Regions from separate parts of the Homo sapiens genome. Here regions 2, 3, 4, 5 and 6 are each linked to region 1. Evidence: promoter capture Hi-C in 16 types of primary human blood cells and fetal thymus (Javierre and others, 2016). All regions are on one chromosome and are shown on one strand. The core of a region is centred on a gene start or on the middle of the fragment in contact, and the rest is flanking DNA. Distances in the headings are between cores, read along the strand shown.

What was found. The method cuts DNA at HindIII sites, captures the fragments that hold promoters and counts their contacts. A CHiCAGO score of 5 or more calls a contact.
Region 2: a contact is called between a fragment that was not itself captured here and the fragment with the promoter of COTL1 in region 1, in 2 of 17 cell types (neutrophils and monocytes). The highest score is 6.0, in neutrophils.
Region 3: a contact is called between a fragment that was not itself captured here and the fragment with the promoter of COTL1 in region 1, in 1 of 17 cell types (naive CD8 T cells). The highest score is 5.1, in naive CD8 T cells.
Region 4: a contact is called between a fragment that was not itself captured here and the fragment with the promoter of COTL1 in region 1, in 1 of 17 cell types (M0 macrophages). The highest score is 5.9, in M0 macrophages.
Region 5: a contact is called between a fragment that was not itself captured here and the fragment with the promoter of COTL1 in region 1, in 3 of 17 cell types (M0 macrophages, activated CD4 T cells and endothelial precursors). The highest score is 7.3, in M0 macrophages.
Region 6: a contact is called between a fragment that was not itself captured here and the fragment with the promoter of COTL1 in region 1, in 1 of 17 cell types (M1 macrophages). The highest score is 5.6, in M1 macrophages.

Annotation. Positions count from the first base shown.
Region 1 is chr16:84,616,660-84,620,056 of GRCh38, reverse strand. It overlaps COTL1 (coactosin like F-actin binding protein 1), which reads left to right and starts at 1,979. Exons shown (of 4, transcript NM_021149.5): 1 at 1,979-2,219; 2 at 2,474-2,556. The coding sequence starts at 2,143. RefSeq lists silencers at 1,721-2,080, 2,101-2,150. The HindIII fragment of the contact is 6,545 bases long and covers 1-3,397 here.
Region 2 is chr16:84,992,666-84,995,805 of GRCh38, reverse strand. The region is part of intron 2 of ZDHHC7 (zDHHC palmitoyltransferase 7); the gene reads left to right. Among named protein-coding and RNA genes, the nearest start is that of ZDHHC7, 17 kb to the left of the region's middle. RefSeq lists an enhancer at 685-1,185. The HindIII fragment of the contact is 8,914 bases long and covers 1-3,140 here.
Region 3 is chr16:84,140,859-84,144,060 of GRCh38, reverse strand. The region is part of intron 1 of HSDL1 (hydroxysteroid dehydrogenase like 1); the gene reads left to right. Among named protein-coding and RNA genes, the nearest start is that of HSDL1, 2.7 kb to the left of the region's middle. The HindIII fragment of the contact is 1,186 bases long and covers 1,206-2,391 here.
Region 4 is chr16:84,921,727-84,925,251 of GRCh38, reverse strand. No RefSeq gene overlaps it. Among named protein-coding and RNA genes, the nearest start is that of LINC02176, 4.5 kb to the left of the region's middle. The HindIII fragment of the contact is 3,173 bases long and covers 187-3,359 here.
Region 5 is chr16:84,940,024-84,943,154 of GRCh38, reverse strand. LINC02176 (long intergenic non-protein coding RNA 2176) reads right to left here. Exons shown (of 4, transcript XR_933830.2): 3 at 1,198-1,296; 4 at 98-255. Among named protein-coding and RNA genes, the nearest start is that of LINC02176, 14 kb to the right of the region's middle. The HindIII fragment of the contact is 1,735 bases long and covers 924-2,658 here.
Region 6 is chr16:84,237,684-84,241,331 of GRCh38, reverse strand. It overlaps KCNG4 (potassium voltage-gated channel modifier subfamily G member 4), which reads left to right and starts at 1,320. Exons shown (of 3, transcript NM_172347.3): 1 at 1,320-1,662. The HindIII fragment of the contact is 259 bases long and covers 1,998-2,256 here.

The sequences.
Region 1 (3,397 bases), core at 730-3,229:
GAAGGAAGCTCCCCATATTTTCTTCTGGCACTTTTGTGATTTCCTTTTTTTGAGACAGAGTCTCGCTTTATCGCTCAAGCTCGAGTGCAATGGTGCGATCTCAGCTCACTGCAACCTCTGCCCCCCGCCCCGGGTTCAAGCGATTCTCCTGCCTCAGCCTCCCAAGTAGCTGGGATTACAGTCGTCTGCCACCACGCCTGGCTAATTTTTGTATTTTTAGTAGAGATGGGCTTTCCCCCTGTTATCCAGGCTGGTCTCGAACTCCTGAGCTTATGAGATCCTCCCACTTCAGCCTCCCAAAATGCTGGGATTACAGGAGTGATCCACTGCGACTGGTCTGATTTCCTTTATTTGTGTTTAAATTTTTGATCCTTTTGGAATTTTCCCTGATCAAAGGATCCACCTTTGTTCTTCTTTCTAATGGCCAATTGTCCCATTACCCTTGTCAAGGAGTAAGGTAGGAATGGCTTTGTGGGGTATGAAATGTGAATTTCTTTTTGTCTTATTTATAACAGCATCTGCCTCTACTCTTCTGAAACTGTGTTCCTGTCCACCCACCCATTCAACTACCCATTGATTGACTGATTGATTGATTCATTCAATTTCTCGTTTTTGTTTTTTTGCTTGTTGAGAATTCTAACATTAATTGGACATTGTCCCTGACCTTTTGGGTTTCTATTTAGGATTTGTTTTTATCACTTAATAACCAACAATGATGACATTTTATCGAATGTCTAGTATATTTGTTCCAAGTATCATTTCAATTACACTTAAAACAAAGCAGTGATGTCAGTTATACTATTTTTCCCATTTGAGGAGTCATTTAAAAGAGGTTTTGAGGCTTTCCAATGGCCCCCAGTTGGAAAGTGGCAGTACTGGATGCAATTCAAGAGCCCAGTCTTCAGGATCCTGCCTTTTTACCTACCTGGACGCTGTAACTGGTCTCTGTGGAATGGCTGGATGAGGGAATGAATGAATGAGTCAGTGAAGGAATGAGGAAGACAGAATGAGTCAGCTCGTGCTTTCAGAGGAGCCCAAAGGGAGAGGTTAAGATAGGAATGCAAATGACCAGAATCCAGAGTAAACGCGAGCCCACCAGCGTTTTGGAAGCAGTCCACTTTCTACCCCCTCCTATTTAAAATGCTTCATTCTTTCCAGTTCCTCCCCACCTAGAATCCATGGAACCAAACGCTGGGGTAGGGACAGTGGCCAGCCTGTCTCCTTGGGTTTGACGCATTACATCATCCACGTGGAGGTCCCCTGTGGAGCTCTGCAGCCCTGCAGCCTCAGGGGCAGGGGGGTGGGGAGAATGAGGAAGGGGGAGAGGGGGAATAGGAGGAGGGAGTAGGGGACAGGGAGGGAGGAGATGCCAGGAGGGTAAGTGGAGAAGAGGGAGGCGAAGCCGGGGGCAGCAGGGGAGGGGGTCAAGGAGGAGGAAAGAGGAGAGCTTGGGGAGAAGGAAATAGGGAGGATGGAGAAGTTTTGGGCTGGGATAGGCAAGAAGAGGGAGGAGGAGAGAGGAAGAAGAATAAAGGGGGAAGGGAGAAAGAGGGGGAGGGAAGGGAGGGGGAAGAGGTCAGGGAAGTGGGGGAAGCAAGCAGTGGGGGAAGAAGAGGAAGGAGGAGGGAGAGGAGGAAGGCGGGGTGGGAAAGGGGGTTGGGGTAGTGGGAGTTTCCAGGGAGGGGTCGGGAGGGGAGGAGGGGAAGTGAGAAGGAGAAGGAGAGAGAAGAGGGATGTTGGGGGAGAAGAGAGCGGGAGGGAGGAGGGAGAGTGAGAGGGAGGAGGCAAAGCCCCTACTCCAGCCCCCACCGCGGAGTTGCGCAAGCCTTCCGGTCTGGGATTGGCCGCCAGAGAATCAAGACGCTCCGCCCCCGCAGCCCGACGGCCAATGAAGAGGCGGGCCGCCGCCTGGGCGGCCAATGGGCGCGGGGGGGCGGGGCGGGCCACGGCCTGGGGTCCCCGCGCGCTCTCCGTCCGCAGTGGAAGCCGCCGCCGCGCTCGCAGCTTGCAGGCGCCGCGTAGCCGTCGCCACCGCCGCCAGCCCGTGCGCCCTCGGCGCGTACCCGCCGCGCTCCCATCCCCGCCGCCGGCCAGGGGCGCGCTCGGCCGCCCCGGACAGTGTCCCGCTGCGGCTCCGCGGCGATGGCCACCAAGATCGACAAAGAGGCTTGCCGGGCGGCGTACAACCTGGTGCGCGACGACGGCTCGGCCGTCATCTGGTAGGAACTTTTCATTCGTCTCCACGCCCCGCTCCCCGGGCTCGCGCGGGGCCTCGTGCACCGAGCCGGCCTCCAGGCGGGACGGATTCGGGCCTCCCGCGCTGTCTTCCTCGCCTTATTCCGGGACGGCGTGCCAGGCCCCCGCGGGCTTCTCCGTGGCCAGCGCGTCTGTTAGATTGTCCTCTGCAAGCGCCGCGTCGCGCGGCCACCAGCGCTGATGTGTGTGTGTGTTTTTTTCTTCTCCCAACCCAAAGGGTGACTTTTAAATATGACGGCTCCACCATCGTCCCCGGCGAGCAGGGAGCGGAGTACCAGCACTTCATCCAGCAGTGCACAGGTAGGGAGGCGCGCCTGCCGGGCGGATGCGCGGTCGTTGGGAGGTTGTCTGCACCCGGGGAGCCCCGGCCAGAGCGAACCCGGGAGGAACCGGTGGCCACATGGGGTGCCCCTGGCGCATGGCGTGGGAGGAACCCGGTGTGAGCGTTTTAAGGCCTCATAAAACCTTCTCCCCTCTGGACATCCGAAGCAACAGAAGTGACCCACCTGCCTCCGCCATCCTACAATGCCTTCTCCAGGCGGGGCAGCTCTTTTGCCCCCTGCGGTCCACTGGTTTTCTAAGGTCAACTCCTGTGTTTCCAAACTCCAGTGTCCATCCAGCTCTTCCCACTGTCCCCTTTGATCAGTCACTGAGCCCAAATACGAACAGGCTAGGGGGCTGCTTGGAAGGGAAAGAAACTCAGCCGCGCCCTCCTTTCTCCCGCTATCATTGTCTGCCCGTGTGCTGATTTTATGTGATTTTTAATTTGACGAGTAGAATCAGATGCAAAAGAGTACACACCATATGATTCCATTTAGAAATCCTAGACAAGGCGAAACTAATCTATGGTGTGAATGTCAGAATCGAGATTAGCTTTTGGGGCTAGATAGCCACTGATGGGGAGGGGCACACCACCCGGACTGCTGGGAGCTGAAAATGTCTCTGTAGACATTTGTTGATCTGGGAGGGGGTTATGCAGGTGTGTACCCGCGTGAAAAATCATCAGACTGTATACTTAAGATTTGTGTGCCTTAGGCACTTCCCTGTGGCTTGTGAACCATGAAAAGAAAGACCACGTGGCAGGCATCGCCATAAACCCTTCGGTAGTGGCAGAGGCTCTGTGATGTTGGTAATGGGACCT
Region 2 (3,140 bases), core at 345-2,844, 380 kb before region 1:
GCTGACAGGCACGCCTTCCTTTTCACCCGCTGCCTTCCGGTCCTAAAAGGAGGGTGTATCTGTGGAGGGGACTCCATGAATTGAATTGATGAGTTCTTGGCCAGTATCACAAGATGAGGGGAATACCCCGCTTTCCACCTGAAATGGAAAGTGGTTTGGTTTTTTTTGTCTGTTTTTTTTGAGATGGAGTCTCAGTCTGTTGCCTAGGCTAGAGTGCAATGGCGTGATCTTGGCTCTCTGCGACCTCTGTCTCCCAGGTTCAAGTGATTCTTCTGCCTCAGCCTCCCTAGTAGCTGGGATTACAGGCACCCGCCATCATGCCCGGCTAATTTTTATATTTTTGGTAGAGACGGGGTTTCACCATGTTGGCCAGGCTGGTCTTGAACTCCTGACCACAAGTGATCCACTCGCCTTGGCCTCCCAAAGTGCTGGGATTACAGGCGTGAGCCACTGTGCCCGGCCTGAAACGGAAAGTTTTTGCTTGTGTGGTTGTCCCTTTAAATATGGAGATTTGTAGTGTTGCTTTTGGTGTTCTGGGAAACAGGGCTTTATTTAACATGCCGAGAAAGAGCTTAGGTTCGGGAGTGTTGAGAAAATCCCATTAAATCGGCCATTAGGGTAGAAGAGTGATGCTGGGGCATCTGTGTGAGAGTGCCCAGTGTTTCACGGTTCCCTCAGAAACTGTCTTGAGTATGAAGTCAACGGTGGTTTTGGAATTCAGTGCAGAATAAGGCTGTGCCCTTGCTCCTAAGGAATGTGTACATTTTAATACCGCATCTCAAATGGCTGTGCTGTTTGCTTTTAGATTAGCTTCCATGTAAAGGAATGGTTTCTTCATTTCTTCCCCTCCCTTCCTGTTGCATTACTCAAGTGTAAATACAGTGACTCAGAGACACGAGTGAGTGCACTGTGTTACTGAGAGCTGTATTTGTCCAGCCTAACTTTGCTATATTCGTTTGTTGCTTTGTTGAAAATAAAGCAGTTTTTGGATTTCATGTTATTTTCCTGTTGACTTCTAATGGATCTTACAGATATGGCACTAAAGCCCTCAAGTATGATATGTCACCCTAATATGTGCTTATAGGAACGTCCTGCCATGGCCAGTGTTTGGTGTCTGTGGGCGCTCTCCTTACACAGCTGTGCCTGCCATCCGCACCCCCAGGTCAGGCATGGAGCCACAGCAGCATCCTGCACTCCGTGGAGGTCTTACCAGGACCTGAACCAGGAAGGCGGAGCTGAGCTGGCTCAGGTGTCACATGTGTGCCTTTAGAAGACTTTCAAGAGGCCCTGCTTTCTGGAGAGAGCTCAGACTGCCCAAACATTGTGCTCTGACAAAAGTATAGCTTGTTTTACTGCCTGGAAAGCACCCTTCCTTTTCTCATGGAACGTGTCCTATTAGAGAAGTCACCATAAAGCAAAATGGTTCTGCTCAGAGGAATTTTTCAGCTTACGGCCTTGATGTACCTGGGCCCACAGATAACGATTCACCAAGAAACTTAGATGGAAATCAGCAGGAGGTGATTGGAATCTGAGAGAGGGACTGCTTGCTTTTTGTTGCATCTGCCTTTTAGCAAACATGCCCTTGCTGTGCGCCAGACAGCATGCAAGGCATGAGGGGGACAGGGCAGGAGGAGACCCAGACCCCCCTGGAGGGGCTGACATCAGGCCGGGAGGTCGGACCTGCAAGAGCTCTCAGGTAGCAAGTGGTAAGTACCTGGGAGGGAGAGCTGGTGAGCGTGCCCAGGGCTTCAGCGGAGGCAGAGAAACTTCCAGGTACTTTCTCAGCCCCCTGACAGTCAGGCTTTACTAGTAGTGCAGGCAGAAGCAGTTTCAGCCTTTATCTCCGGATAGTCACATCTGATGTCTAGAGACCTCTTCGCAAAGTGCTCCTCAGAAGAAGAGAACTCCCTTTTCAGGTTGGCTTGCCTAGAAGAGAGAAAAGTTAGGCCCTGCAGGGTGAATGAGGTTTATGTAGAGGCAATGGTGCTGCAAAGGTGTTTGCAGGGGATGTTGAGCAGACAGATGCAGAAGATGTAGGTTCAGAAAATGCTGAAGGAATGGTTGGCTAAGGGGTCTGTCCAAATTCTTTTGATCTTTAGTTTTTTCTATTTCACTCAAATGATTATTTTTAAAAGTTTTTTTAATTAAAACAATTTTTTTGACATTGGGTCTTACTTACTCTGTTGCCCAGGCTGGACTGCAGTGGTGGGATTGTGGCTCACTGTAGCCTCAACCTGCCAGTCTCATGCGATCCTTCCACGTCAGTCCCCCAAACAGCTGGGACTATAGGTGTGTGCCACCATGCCTGACTATAAAAAAAAAAAACAATTTTGTTTTGTAGAGATTGGGTCTTCCCATGTTGCGCAGGCCAGTCTCAAACTCCTGGGCTCAAGAGATCCTCCCACCTTGGCCTCCTAAAGTGCTGAGATTACAGGTGTAAGCCACCACACTCAGCCTTAAGCATGTATTTATTTATTTTTATTTTTTGAGACAGGATCTCTCTGTCATCCAGGCTGGAGCGCGGTGGCATGATCATGGCTCACTGCAGCCTCCACCTCCCAGGCTCAAGCAATCTTCCCCCCTCAGCCTCCCTAGTAGGGGGGACTATAAGCGCAAGCCACCATGCCTGGTTAATTTTTATTTTCTGTAGAGATGAGGTCTTACTCTGTTGCCCAGGCTGATCTCAAACTTCTGGGCTCAAATGATCCTTCTGCCTCAGTCTCCCAAGTGCTGACTTGAGCCACTGCACCCAGCCTTAAACATTTTTTAAAGCTGCTTTTATCTGATTGAAAAATAGGGCTATTTTACTGACTTTGGAAAACAATTTCATTTTGCTCTTGTACCAGTCAGCATTTTTGCATCGAGAGGAAATTTTTTAAAGTATTTGGCGAATGAATCCTCACCACATGTTCATTCGGCAAATGTTTTCATAATTGCTATGTTCCAGTTGCATTTAAGAAAAGAAAAAGTCACACCCAGATTTGAAAAACAGCACCCAGTGCTGTTACTCAGTTGTAGTGACCTGACCTCTGAGAACATTCTTACTACACTCCTTTATTCACATTTCAGAAGCCATGGTTTCTGCACTCTGCCTGCTTAAAATATGAGGAGCGCTCCTGCTCTGAGAAGGTGCCCGGGTC
Region 3 (3,202 bases), core at 549-3,048, 480 kb after region 1:
GGGAGAGGGAGGGGGAGGGGGAGGGTGTTGATTGATTGATTGATTCAGACAATCTCGCTCTGTCGCCCGGGCTGTAGTGCAATGGTGCCTGCGATCTCAGCTCCTGCTACCTCTGCCCGCCATCCCGCACCCCGGGCCCAAGTGATTCTCCTGCCTCAGCCTTCCGAGTAGCTGGGATTACAGGCACGTTCTACCACACCCAGCTAATTTTTTTTTTTTTTTTTTTAGTAGAGACGGGGTTTCGCTGTGTTGGTCAGGGTAGCCTTGAACTCCTGGCCTCAAGTGATCTGCCCGCCTTGGCCTCCCAAAGTTCTGGGGTTACAGACATGAGCCACTGTACCCGGCCAAGTTTGTGGTTTTAATCACTGCTGGAATATTCTAGGGCAACAGAGTTGAACATATTGGTGCTACTTTTTTTTAAAGTAGGTTTTCAAAAATCGAAATGACTTACGCATGACATAAAATTTATCATTTTAGCCATTTTACAGTGTATAACTCAGTAGTTCTTGCTATAGTCACAATGCTATGCAACCATCACCAGTAACTAATTCCAGAACATTTAATCACCTACAAAAGAAACCCCAACCCCATTAACAGTCATACCTCTTTTCTCCCCCTGTCCCTCAGCAGCCCTAAGTTATCTTCTGTCTCTATGGATTTGCTTATGCTGGACATTTCATACAAGTGGAAACATACAACATACGGCCTTTTGTATTTGGTTTCTGTCCTTTAGCATAATGTTTTCAAAGTTTATCCATGTTGTAGTATGTATCAGTACTTCATGCTTTTTTATGGCTGAATAATACTCCTTTGTGTGGATAACACCACATTTTGCTTATTCATTCATTTGTTGATGGACATTTTGTTTGTTTCTGCCTTCTGGCAGTTGTGAGTAGGCCACTGTGAACATGCAAGCAGGAGTTTTTATGTGAGCAAAAGTTTCTAATTATCTTGGGTATCTGCCTAGGAGTGGGGTACTCTGAATATTTTAATTCTTACTGCATAAATACAGACATGATGGTGAAGAGTGTTGGATCTTGGATGAGAATCCAGGTTTCTAATTCCATGTTGCTGCTCTTTAGGCTCAGCTTCATTGTGCGTTTAGTCCTATACCAAAAATTGGCAGTGAAGGTAAAGACATCCCAAAAAGTCTTGATACACCAATGCTAACTTTGTCATAGTGCTGACGCAGAGTATGAAAAGCTTAAGTTTTTTTCTCAAGAGTGAAATTTGAGCTTTGAACACAAAGCAGTATTTGATTCTGTTTATTAAATAAAGTTGTCTACAGCAGCATGTCAGGTGCTGAGGAGGAATATTAAAGATGTGTGAGATCCGGCCGGTCACATCCCAGTGCTTTGGGAGGCCAAAGTGGGCGGATCACAAGGTCAGGAGTTCAAGACCAGCCTGGCCAATATGGTGAAACCCCCGTCTCTACTAAAAAAGAAAAAAATACAAAAATTAGCCAGGCATGGTGGCACACGCCTGTAGTCCCAGTTACTTGGGAGGCTGAGGCAGAAGAATTGCTTGAACTTGGAAGGAGGAGGTTGCAGTGAGCTAAGATCGCGCCATTGCACTCCAGCCTGGGTGACAGAGTGAGACTCTGTCTCAAAAAAAAAAAAAAAAAAAAAAAGATGTGTGAGATCCCAGCCTCACACCATCACAAAACGCCAGGAGGATTAAAGACTTAAACTGAAAAAGCAAAAATGTAAAATTTCTAGAAAATAATTCGAAAAAATTTCTTCATGACCTGAGGCTAAGGAGGGATTTCTGAAATAAAACAAACCCTAAAGCAGAAAGATTGATATATTTGTCTCTTTCAAAATTAAGACATTCAGCCAGGTGCAGTGGCTCCCACCTGTAATCCCAGCACTTTGGGAGGCCAAGGCAGGTGAATGGTTTGAGCTTACGAGTTTGAGACCAGCCTGGGCAACATGGTGAAACCTCATCTCTACACACACAAAAAAAATTTAACTGGGCTTGGTGGTACATGCCTGTGTCCCAGCTACTTGAGATGCTGAGGTGGGAGGATGGCTTGAGCCCGGAAGGCGGAGGTTGCAGTGAGCTGTGATCATGCCACTGCACATCAGGCTGGGCAATAGAGCCAGACCTTGTCTCAATAATAATAACAACACATTTAGTTCATGAAAGACACTATAATGAGACACAAAACATACAGAGAGCTAGTATCTAGAATATTTAAAGAATTCTTACAATTCTGAGAGAAAAAAAAGGAAAGGACAAAAGATAGGAACGGGCATTTCATAGATTACAAAACACAGAAAGCACATACATATAAAAAGGACTGCAGCCTTACTAGTAACCAGGGAAATGTAAATTAAAACCATAATGAGATACCATTTCACAGCCACCCTGTTGGCAGAAGGTGAAGCTTTGGACGCTACCAGCCAGTGACATTGAGGAGTGGCACGAACCTGCTGCTGGCGGGAGTGTGAATGGGTTCTGCCGCTTTGCAAAAGCATTTGGCAGTGGAATGCATGTGGACCAGCAGTTAAACCATGGGCAAATCCCTTTGCGAACTCTTGCACAGGTGTGCAGGAGATGGGGACAAGCGCTCCCTGCAGCACTGTTCCTAACTGTAAATCAAAACCAGCAGAAACAGTGCACGTGCCTAGCACCAGCAGCAGGGGGACCTGTGAATCGTGGTGTATCTGAACCAGCAGCAGGGGGACCTGTGAATCGTGGTGTATCTGAACCAGCAGCAGGGGGACCTGTGAATCGTGGTGTATCTGAACCAGCAGCAGGGGGACCTGTGAACTGCAGTGCATCTGAACCGTGAGATACTGTGCAGCTGCCGAGGAGGATGGACTATATAGCTGCAGGGGCATGGATGAGTCTCGGGAATGATGTTGAGTGAAAGAAACAAGTCACCAAAGGGTCCATGTGGTGTGGTTCCTTTATGTGAGGTTCAAAACCAGGCGAAACTTAGCAATACTGTTTTTTTTTTTGTTTGAGACGGAGTCTCGTTCTGTCGCCCAGGCGGGAGTGCTGTGGCGCGATCTCCGCTCACTGCAAGCTCCGCCTTCCGGGTTCACGCCATTCTCCTGCCTCAGCCTCCCGAGTAGCTGGGACTACAGGCGCCCACCACTGCGCCCGGCTAATTTTTTGTATTTTTAGTAGAGACGGGGTTTCACCGTGGTCTCGATCTCCTGACCTCGTGATCCGCCCGCCTCGGCCTCCCAAA
Region 4 (3,525 bases), core at 524-3,023, 310 kb before region 1:
CAAGCTCGACCCCACTGCCGGGGTCCTCGTACGTGCTCTCTCTTGGGAACTGATCTGCTGTCAGTCATATGCACTTTAGTGAGAATAAGTCCAAGTCCTTGATTCTTGTCTCCTGGGGGAGATTTACACTTAAATCCCACGGCTCATTGCTAAAGAACAGGAAGGCTCTGCCCAAGACTTGAAGCTTCAGGCACCAGGGAAGGAAGGGGAGGGTCCTCCCAAGAGTCTTGCTGAACAGCTGTGTACCCTGACCCCTGAACCTGGGAGGACCTGGCCACGGGCCTGCTTCCCAAAGGCTCCTCCCCCTCGAGGGGAGCGGCCGTGCTGTTTGCATGCTGCTTTAGAAGACACCATCCTCAGACCTTCAGCGCTTACCACGTGCTGAGCGTCTTTGCTGTCGCCTCCTGCACGTGCACAGTGGCCCTCCAAAGTCATCATTGCTTTACATGCCAGGCAATGGAAGCCCAGACAGGGTAAGAGGCATCAGCCAAGGCGTGGAGATGGCCATTGGCCAGTGGGCTCTGTGGATCTGGGCCTCAGAGAGGCAAGAGCTGAAGACGTGGCGTGGGGCAGGGGGCACACATGCAGATGGCGTGTAACGCAAGGGATGGGATGACTGCGGGGGAGAGGGAGCCCGGGCAGAAGGGAAGAGGTCCAAGGTCAGCCAGTTAGCAGGGGCCAGGAAAGGAGTGGGGTGGAGAGGCCGGGGATGGAAGGAGAGAAATCGCGAGGGCGTGAAGCATGCACGGGGCTTACAAGCAGACCATAACGGAAGGTTTGTGACCTTTAAGAAAAATCTAACCATTTGATTGGCTGCTCTGCTTGGCTGTAGTGCAAAGCCCGCCCACTTTGAAGAGGGGCCCAGAGGCAGCCTGAGGCTGTGTCCTCTGGGGGACTTGAATTCAAATGTCTTTCCTGTGTTTTTTGCTTGAAGTCCAATTTTCAAACTTGTTTTTCCCCCCTGTTATTTTTGCAGAGATGGGGTCTCCCTATGTTCTCCAGGGTGGTCTTGAACTCCTGGGCTCAAGTGACCCTTCTGCCTCTGCCTCCCTGAGTGCTGGGATTGCAGACGTGAGCCAGCATGCCTGGCGAGATCCAATTTTCAAGGAGAATATCTATATTCTTTAGAATAGTTTACATTAAACTAATATAAACTATTAGTTTATAACATACCATTGTACTAGTTTGAATCTTCAAAAAGATCCGTCCACATACTAACCTCAAAGAATTACGATTGGGACCTCATCTGGGGAAAGGGTCTTTGCAGGTGTTAAGAAGTTAAGGATTTTGAGGTGGGATCATTCTTTTTTTTTTTTTTCTTTTTTTTTTTTGAGACAGAGTCTCGCTCTGTCGCCCAGGCTGGAGTGCAGTGGCACAAACTTGGCTCACTGCAAGCTCCACCTCCCAGGTTCACGCCATTCTCCTGCCTCAGCCTCCGGAGTAGCTAGGACTACAGGCGCGCGTCACCAGGCCTGGCTAATTTTTTTTGGTATTTTTAGTAGAGACGGGGTTTCACCATGTTAGCCAGGATGGTCTTGATCTCCTGACCTTGTGATCCACGAGGTGGGATCATTCTTGACTAGGGTGGGCCCCACATTCAGTGACAGGTGTCCTTCTAGGAAACAAGGGGAGAAAGCCATGTGAAGGTGAGGTGGAGACTTGAGTGTCCTGGGATACGTCGGCATCTATCATCCATCATCTGTCTATAGGTAAGTAGACAGGCGGTAGATATGGACAACCATATATAGATATAAAATATTCTCCCTTGCATATAGATCATATGTCATATAATGTGTCAGTGTTTCTCAAAGTATGGCCTGAGGAACTCCTGCATCAAAGTTGCCTGGGACTTTGTAAAACTAAAGACTCCTGGGCCGGCTTTCAGACCTATGGGATTAGACTGTGGATGGGGCCCAGGAATGGGCATTCTAGACACATTTTCTGAGTGATTCTGATGCCCCTGGTGGTTCCCTGATATGCTGAGGATGGCTTGGGAGCAGGTGGGGGGAGGTTTGTCAACCAGAAGTGACCAGGAATGTGTCCAAGCAGAAAGGCAGGGACAGGGTGGACTGTTCTGGCTAAGGTGGAGGTTGCTGGCGCACCTCCCTCTGGGGCTGATGGACAGCTGGTGTGTGCTGGGGGCCCAGATGTTTGGGGTCATGGGGACCCTGCTCCGTCCTTGTTGGCACTGGTGCCCCCACCGCCCTCTGGGCCCAGCTGCTGTTGGAGAGGGGCCAGGAGTACACACAGGCTATTGTCAGCCCGTCTCACACTCGGCGTGCCTGGCCTTCCTGACGTTTAGACAGCTGCTTTGTGTCTGGCTGCTCTGGGAATTCCAGGGCCCGGGAAGCGACCGGAGCTGACATCCCAGGACCAGCTGGTGGGGTGGGCCGCGGGGCCATCTGGAAGTTTCCGGACCTCAGGGAACACTTATGTAACTGGTTTAGAGGGGAGGTTTGGACAATGGATTCGCTGAAGGACCAAGAACAAACTGAGCCTTTCCCAGGGCAGGCAGGTCCTCTCCCGCCAACAGGCATCTTATCTACTCCCCAAGGCCCCTCTCAGCCCCAGAGGGTCCCTGCTGTCAAAGCCAGAAGAGCAGACGATGGGACTGAAGCTCTCCAAGGGCAAGGACTTGTCTGTTTTGCCTTGTCACCCTCTGTGCTTAGCACAGCACTTGGCCCGTGCTGAGTGCTGAGTGAGGGTTGAATGAACATGCGCTTGTGTACATGACAGAGTTTCCTCCAGGGAGGAAGGACTGGCCCAGAGCAGCGGCTCACAAAGCGGGGTTCCTGGGTCAGCCCAATCAGCATCCCCTGGGGCTTGTTAGAATGCAGGTTCTCAGGCCCCACCCCAGAACTCCTGAGTCAGATGCTCTGGGGCTGGGCCTGGCAATCTATATTTTTAAGAGCCCATCAAGGGATTTCGATCCAGGCCGGTGCAGGAGAACCCCTGGTGTAGGGCAGCGAGAGGCAGCTTCCAATACCAGGCAACCCCCAACAAAATCCAACTGCTTCCACTCATAGCACTATTACTACTACTACCTCCACTACTACGGTTGCTGTCACGACTGCCATTGTTATCAGTACAGTTACTATTATTACTACGATACTTCTACTGGTACTATTGATTTAGTTGAGGCAGAAGAGCTGGGTCCTCCATGCATGGGCACTCAGCTTAGATTGTAGCCGAGTCCCCGAAGGTGGGGCGCAGATGCTTAGACGTTTCCAGGGACTTGTGGGCGGCTGGCGGGAGACCCACTGGTTTGGATGAAAGGGCACACGGGGCCTCTGAAGTGACACAGATGTGGATTCAAGTCCTGGTCCTGCCTCTTTATTTATTTCTTTTTGAGACAAGCTTTCGTTCTGTCACCCAGGCTGGAGTGCAGTGGTGTGATCTTGGCACCCAGGCTGGAGTGCAGTGGTGTGATCTTGGCTCACTGCAGCCTCGATTTCCTGGGCTCAAGTGATCCTCCCAACTCAGCCTCACAAGTAGCTGGGACCACAGGTGCACCCCATCATGCCT
Region 5 (3,131 bases), core at 542-3,041, 320 kb before region 1:
GAGCCAAGATCGCACCATTGTACTCCAGCCTGGGCATCAGAGTGAGACTCCATCTCAAAATAAATTAAAAAAAAAAAAAAAAAAAAAGGGATGAAACACCGATCCAGGTTATACAATGTGGATGAACCCTGATGCCATGGTGCTAAGTGAAAGAAGCCAGACGAAATGACCACATACTGTGTGACTCCATTGATAAGGAATGTCTAGGACAGGCCAGTCCATAGAGACAGAAAGCTGACTGGAGGCTGCCAGGAGCTGGGGGAGACAGAAATTAGGAGAAACTGCTTAATGGGTTTGGGGTTTCACTGTGGGATGAGGGAAGTGTTTTGGAGCTAGATAGGGGTGCTGGTTGTACAAAACTGTAAATGTACTGAATGCTGCTGGGGGCAGTAGCTCATGCCTGTAATCCTGGTGCTTTGGGAGGCCAAGGCGGGCAGATGTCTTGAACCCAAGAGTTCAAGACCAGCCAGGGACGCATGGCAAAACCCTGTCTCTACAAAATGTCAGCCAAGCGTGGTGGCATGTGTCTATAATCCCAGCTACTTAGGAGGCCGAGGTGGGAGGATTGCTTGAGCCTAAGAGGTTGAGGCTGCAAAAAAAAAAAAAAAAAAAGTACCAAATGCCAATTAATTGATCACTTTAAAATGGTTATTTTTATGTTATATGATTTCACCTAAATAAATTAGTTTTAAAACCCTAAAAACAAAACACCACAGTGGACAAGGCAGAACCAGGAGGACCAGTTGGCAAATCAGACAAAAAGGAGGGCAGAGGGGTGGGGTGGGGAGGAACCTGGGGTGTGCAGACAGTTAGGGTGACAGGCGCCATCCGAATGGTGGGGTCAGCAGGAGAGGAGAGGAGAGAGATGCCCAGCGTCTGGAGGAAGGGTGGATGAATCTAAAGCACAATGGGCTCCAGAAGCTTCTGGAAGGAGAGAGGACCTGTTTATGTGTTGGGTCTGCGGTGCCAGAGGGCCTCTCGGGCGGGGAGCTCATGTGAGTGTCTCCCACTGAATGAGTCAGGCGGAGAGTATGTTGGAAAAATACGCTGACATGTCCTGCGGTGTCAAACCATCCCTGGCCCAGCCACTGTGTCACTCAGCCCAAGGGCAGATGGGGAAATGTGCCTGTTGAGGTGCGAGTGGGGTGGGGAGAAGGTCACCCTAGTCCATCTGGGTTGCGGGGCGGGTGTGCTCACCTCAAAAGAAAAGTCTGGTCCAGGAATCCCAGTTGTCTGGATAGCGGTGTGTCTCCCATTTTACTAGGGGGAGGATGCAGATCCAGAGAGGTCCGGGTCCTGGGGAGTGAGGGGCGAGTCAGGTCTGCCTGGCCTCTACACTCATGCCCTTGTCTTTATTTCATGCTCAGCCCCTCATCACATAGGTACCGTTCGGAAGCACGTTCTAGAAAGTCCCCTCCTAAAAGTGGACACGGTTTGGGAGCAGGAGGAGGAAGCCTCGGCGGTGAGGAACGCTCACGGCAGGAAGGCGTGAAGGAGCCGCGCTCAGCAACTGCTGCAGCTCCGGTTTGGAACCAGGGCTGTCGGGGAGTTGAGCGTCTCTGGGTCTCGCTTCAGGTGTTCATCAAGGCACAGGCAAAAGCCACTTACTGGGGAAGGGGGTTGGGAAGAGCAGGCCCCGAAGTCACACTTGAGTTGGGATAATTTAGGGAGCGCTCAGGAAAAGGACTGTGCTCAAAGGTGCAGGGATGCGTGGGCTCCGGGACACCGCAGGCGGCGCACGGGCAGCACCAGGGCCGGCAACGGCAGGAGCGCCCAGCACTGAGGCCCGAGGGTAAGGTTGGGGACACGGGACGCAGCTGGCCCATGCGGCCCTGCAGAGAGGGAATTGGGGGAGTGGATGCGACTCAGCTCCTCCAGCCCTCTCCAGTCTCTTGCAGACACCTCCCACCTGCCAAACGCCTCCAGAGGCCGGGGGCAGCTGGTCCTACAGGGGGTTTCCCAAGGCCGGCATCCCTGGGTGGGGAAGCGTGGACGTGGGCCCCAGGCTGTGTGTGTGGACTTCAGGTGACACTGGATGGCATTCCGCAGCCCTGAGCCCCCCTCACGCACATGATCACACACGGGGGGTCCTGGCCGCCTCTCAGGAGGGGCCTCTCATCCTGCTGTTTGTAAACTTCAGAAAGCCAAACAGTCCCTTAGAGAAGCCAGGCCTGGATTTGCTCCGGACATCTGGAACAAGTTACCCTATTTCCCAATCTCTGCTGATCGTTCCCCGCTGCGGGAATGCTGCCCTCGGCCGACAGGGACGAGGACCTGTGGAGAGTGGCAGCCCCCACAGGCCGAGGCTGGCAAGGCGGGCACGGGGGCCGGGGCTCTGGTGGAAATGTCACATTTGAGGCAGCTCTCACAAGGGCCCTGTCTGATGCGAGGCCAGGCCTAGAGAGGATGGTGGAGACTGTGCGTGTGCAGGGTGTTCCGGAACCTTCCCTGGGATGCATGGGGCCTCGCCGCAGGCCATCTCTCCAGACCTGGACTCACCCTGCCCCTGTGCTGTTGCCTTTGTCTGGAATTCCACCCCAGCCTTCTTGCCTCAAGAACGCCCTTCCCCCTTCAGATCTCATGGGCACAGTCCCCGTCTTCCTAAACGGGGTCAGAGCCCCCAGTAATCATGACAAAGACCCTCTCCTCGATCAAGCTTTGGTCAGGCTCCTCCAAACCCTCTTCTCCAGGAGGCCTTGGCCTGGGGGCTTCTGCACTTGTCTTGGCTTTTTCCAGTTTTAGCAAGAACCCAGAGTCAATTAGGAAAACTCCCCGACCCCCGACGCGTGAGCAGTTCCTCGCCTGGCACTGCCCCTCGGGGGTGTCTGTTCACCTGGCCTGCCTTCGGCGAGAGTCCTGTTCCATCGGTTTAGCCAGAACTTCCCCCCACACCTAATGCTTCCTCTTAGTCATTTTCTTTTTTTGAGACGGAGTCTCGCGCTATCACCTTGGCTGGAGCACAGTGGCGCGATCTCAGCTCACTGCAACCTCCGCCTCCCAGGTTCAAGCGATTCTCCTGCCTCAACCTCCCAAGTAGCTGGGATTACAGGTGTGTCCCACCAAGCCTGCCTAATTTTTGTATTTTTAGTAGAAACAGGGTTTCACCATGTTGGCCAGGCTGGTCTTGAACT
Region 6 (3,648 bases), core at 878-3,377, 380 kb after region 1:
CTGTGGAAGGCTCACCCTCTAATCTCCCTCACTCCTGGATCCTCCCATCAAAACTCAAGCGTCTGTTAAGTGATGGTTCTTTTTTTTTTTTTTTTTTTTTGAGACAGAGTCTCACTTTGTCACCCAGGCTGGAGTGTAGTGGCGCGACCTCAGCTCACTGCAACCTCCGCCTCCCGGATTCAAGCAATTCTCCTGCCTCAGCCTCCCGAGTAGCTGGGATTACAGGCACCCGCCACCATGCCCAGCTAATTTTTGTATTTTTAGTAGAGACAGGGTTTCAGTACGTTGGCCAGGCTGGTCTCAAACTCCTGACCTTGTGATCTGCCCGCCTCCGCCTCCAAAGTTCTGGGATGACAGCTGTGAGCCACCACACCCGGCCTAAGTGATGGTTCTAACCAGCAAGATGACCTTGAGCAAGCCTCTTCTCAGGGCCTCAACTATCAAATGCAGTGAAGATAACACATTCAGAAGCCAAGAGCCTGGGCTGCAAAACCTCTTAAGAAAGTGAAGAACAGTCAACGTGTAGTGAGCAACTACAAGATGCTGGTTTTACAATTGCAGCCATCGCTGGTTTCACTGTCCTCATTTGACTGAGAAACCCAAGGCCCAGAGAGGGGAAGTGACTGACCAAGAACACACAGCCAGGCAGTGCAGAGTCCAAGTTCACACCCAGGCCCTGGACTGATGCCTCTTCCTTTTCACCCACCCAACCATCCAACCAGCACAGGAGCTTGCACTTATGGTTCTGACCTTCCCTGAACCCTCTCTCATTCCCATGTTTTAGAGACAAGACAATTGAGGCTCAGAAGCACTAACTCACCTGGCCAAGGTCACCCAGCCTTTCACATAGGAGCCAGGATCCAGGCATGTGTGTGAATTCCAAGCTCGGAGCTCTTCCTATTGCTGTTCTGTAACACAGCCCCCCTGACTCCCACCCAGCGCTCAGAGCCTGGGCTTCTGTCTGAACCTGTCCCAGGCCTGGGCTGCTTAAAAGCAGCAAAAAGTTCCTCCTGCAGCTTCAACTTGAGCCTGTCACCATCATCAGCATACCCCGAGAGACTCTGGGGTGCCTGGGACAGGTAGCTGCAGATGCCTCCGGCCCCAAGTTGCCCTCTGCTCCTCCCGAGTTGTGCTCCTCCATGCCAGAGGAGGGAGGACAGCTCCCCTTGCCTCCTAGGCGGTTGGCAGAGTGGCAGCGGCTGCTGCTTCTTCCTGCTGCTGGCTGATGGAGAGATTATTTCTAAGCCCTTCCCATTCCACACCCCCCCACACTGGCTGTCCCCGTGGGACTTGAAGTGCAGAGTCCGCTGCTCAACCAGGACAGCTGCCCTGGCTCCCTCCCAGCAAGAACCCCCAGACCCTCATCTCTCATAAGGAAAGGGACTTCTGGGTCCTTTAAAAAAAAAAAAAAATCCCACCTCAATCCCCCAGGGCTCTCCTGCAGCTGCTGGAGAGAGAGATGCAGAATGAATGAACTTCTGGTTTCTGGAGGAGGCACGGGAAGAAAGATTGGAAACTGACTCTGCTAGAAACTGCTGTTTTGGGGATTTTTTTCTTCCCCTTCATCTCCACCAGAAACCTGTCCCTTCCCTGGGCACCAAGAGATGGGCTCCCCTTGCCTGGCAGAGAAACAGCTGGAAACTGGCTCCCTGAGACAAGAAGGTGAGTTAAACTGGAGGGGAAGAGTTACTGCTTGCTGTAGGGTGGGCGGGGGCCAGGGGGAAGTTGACGCTGTTAGACATCCTTGGCAAAAGTGCTGGTTTGAGTGAATTCCTTTCCCGTGCTCCAGAAGGAGCTGTTTGCCAGCTGTTTGGAGAGCCGTAGATGGCAAAATTGGGTTTATTCAGTGAATGCAGAAAGGGCAGTTTTCAGGTTCTGGAAGGAGCCCCAGGCTGGGGGACAGAGTGCTGGGTTGGATTCGGATTTGCTGTGTGACCTTGGACAAGTTACTTCCGCTCGCTGGGTCTTGGTTTTTGCACTGGGAAAATGAGGAAGCTTGCAAAGGGCTCCCCAGATTTCAAAATACTCTTCTCTCTGCAGGCTCCTCATCCTCCTCTGGCCATTCCCTGTGAGCAAAGTAATGCATTCAGAGCAACAGAATGTTGTGTAGGGAGCAAGAGTGTGAAATAGGTTACGATTCACTCTCCACTATCCACCGGAATCCAACCGGCTCTGAAATTGAGAGGAACTTTGATTTCCGTTCCACTGCCGAGTTTTTCTCTTGATTGGAGTGGAGTGCATCTGAAAATGTAAGCTTATAGATGCTTTGGAAATGGCTTTGGCTAGAATGAATAGCATAAGAAATGGTTGCAGGATCTGAAGGTGAGAAATATTATGAAAAGGACTTTTTAAATATGTGAAGTGGCTAAATCTAAAACACTCACACTAAGTCAAGCACCTCATATAGGTCTGAAATGGAGACAGCATTAGAGGCCCCGTCATTTTTTTTTGTTTTTTTCTTTTTGAGATGGAGTCTCGCTCTGTTGTCCAGGCTGGAGTGCAATGGCGCAATCTCGGCTTACTGCAGCCTCCGCCTCCCGGGTTCAAGCGATTCTCCTGCCTCAGCCTCCCGAGTAGCTGGGACTACAGGTACATGCCACCTTGCCTAGCTAATTTTTGTATTTTTAGTAGATACAGGGTTTCATTGGCCAGGCTGGTCTCGAACTCCTGACCTCAGATGATCTGCCTGCCTCTGCCTCGCAAAGTGCTGGGATTACAGGCATGAACCACTGCGGCTGGAGGCCCCTTCATTCTGCACATAAAAGCCTGCGGGCCCAGAGAGGGGGAGTAACTGGCTGGAGGTCACACAGCAAGGATGGCTGAGGCAAGCACGCAACGAACATGGAGGAGTACTGTGATTGCAAGTACGCAATGCTCCTCCGTCCCCTTAGCAAAGGCCTCCCCAAATGGGGAAGCGACCAAGAGGGATTAAGCGAGACTGGTGGAGTTCCTCCTGAGACCTAGATGCTTGGATGCTCGCTAAGCATAGTCACATTCCTGGGCTACTCGAACCTTTAATAACAGACCCTCGCTGAACCTTCCTGATGTCAGGTGCTTGCTAAACAGTAGGCAAGACACGCAAACCTTCCGTGCGTCAGCCTCCTTATCTATAAAGTGGAGCTCTTATGTCTACTTCATGAGGTTGTTGAGGTGAGTTAGGGGAAGCCAGGCATGTCAGAAGCATCTAGAAGTATTATTAATACACACTTTCTTGTATATTACTGCATATAACCCTTGCCATGCCCTACGATGTGGGCACTCAGACTGCCCCAGTCATACAGATAAAGCAAAGGACTCAGAGACACTGAGTAACCCACCTGTGCTGGCAGTCTGTAAGGGATCGGTCCCTGCCAGTGAACCTGAGAGCCTACATTCTTAAGCTCTATTTTTACTACCTGTACCTTGCAAGATTAGTATGAGTCTTGTCATTTGAATGAATGATGCTGAGATCAGAGAGGTTAAGCCACATACCTGAGACCACAGAGCCCAGAAGTGGCACCGCTCCGACTTGTCCAGCTCAGGACTGAATTACTCAAGCCCCCATCCGTGCAACGTCTATTCTGGAGACATCCTTCTGAGATGTCGGTAGAGGTTCCACCAGGGAAGGGTTTTTTTCACTGATGTATCCCAAGCACATAGTAGGTGCTC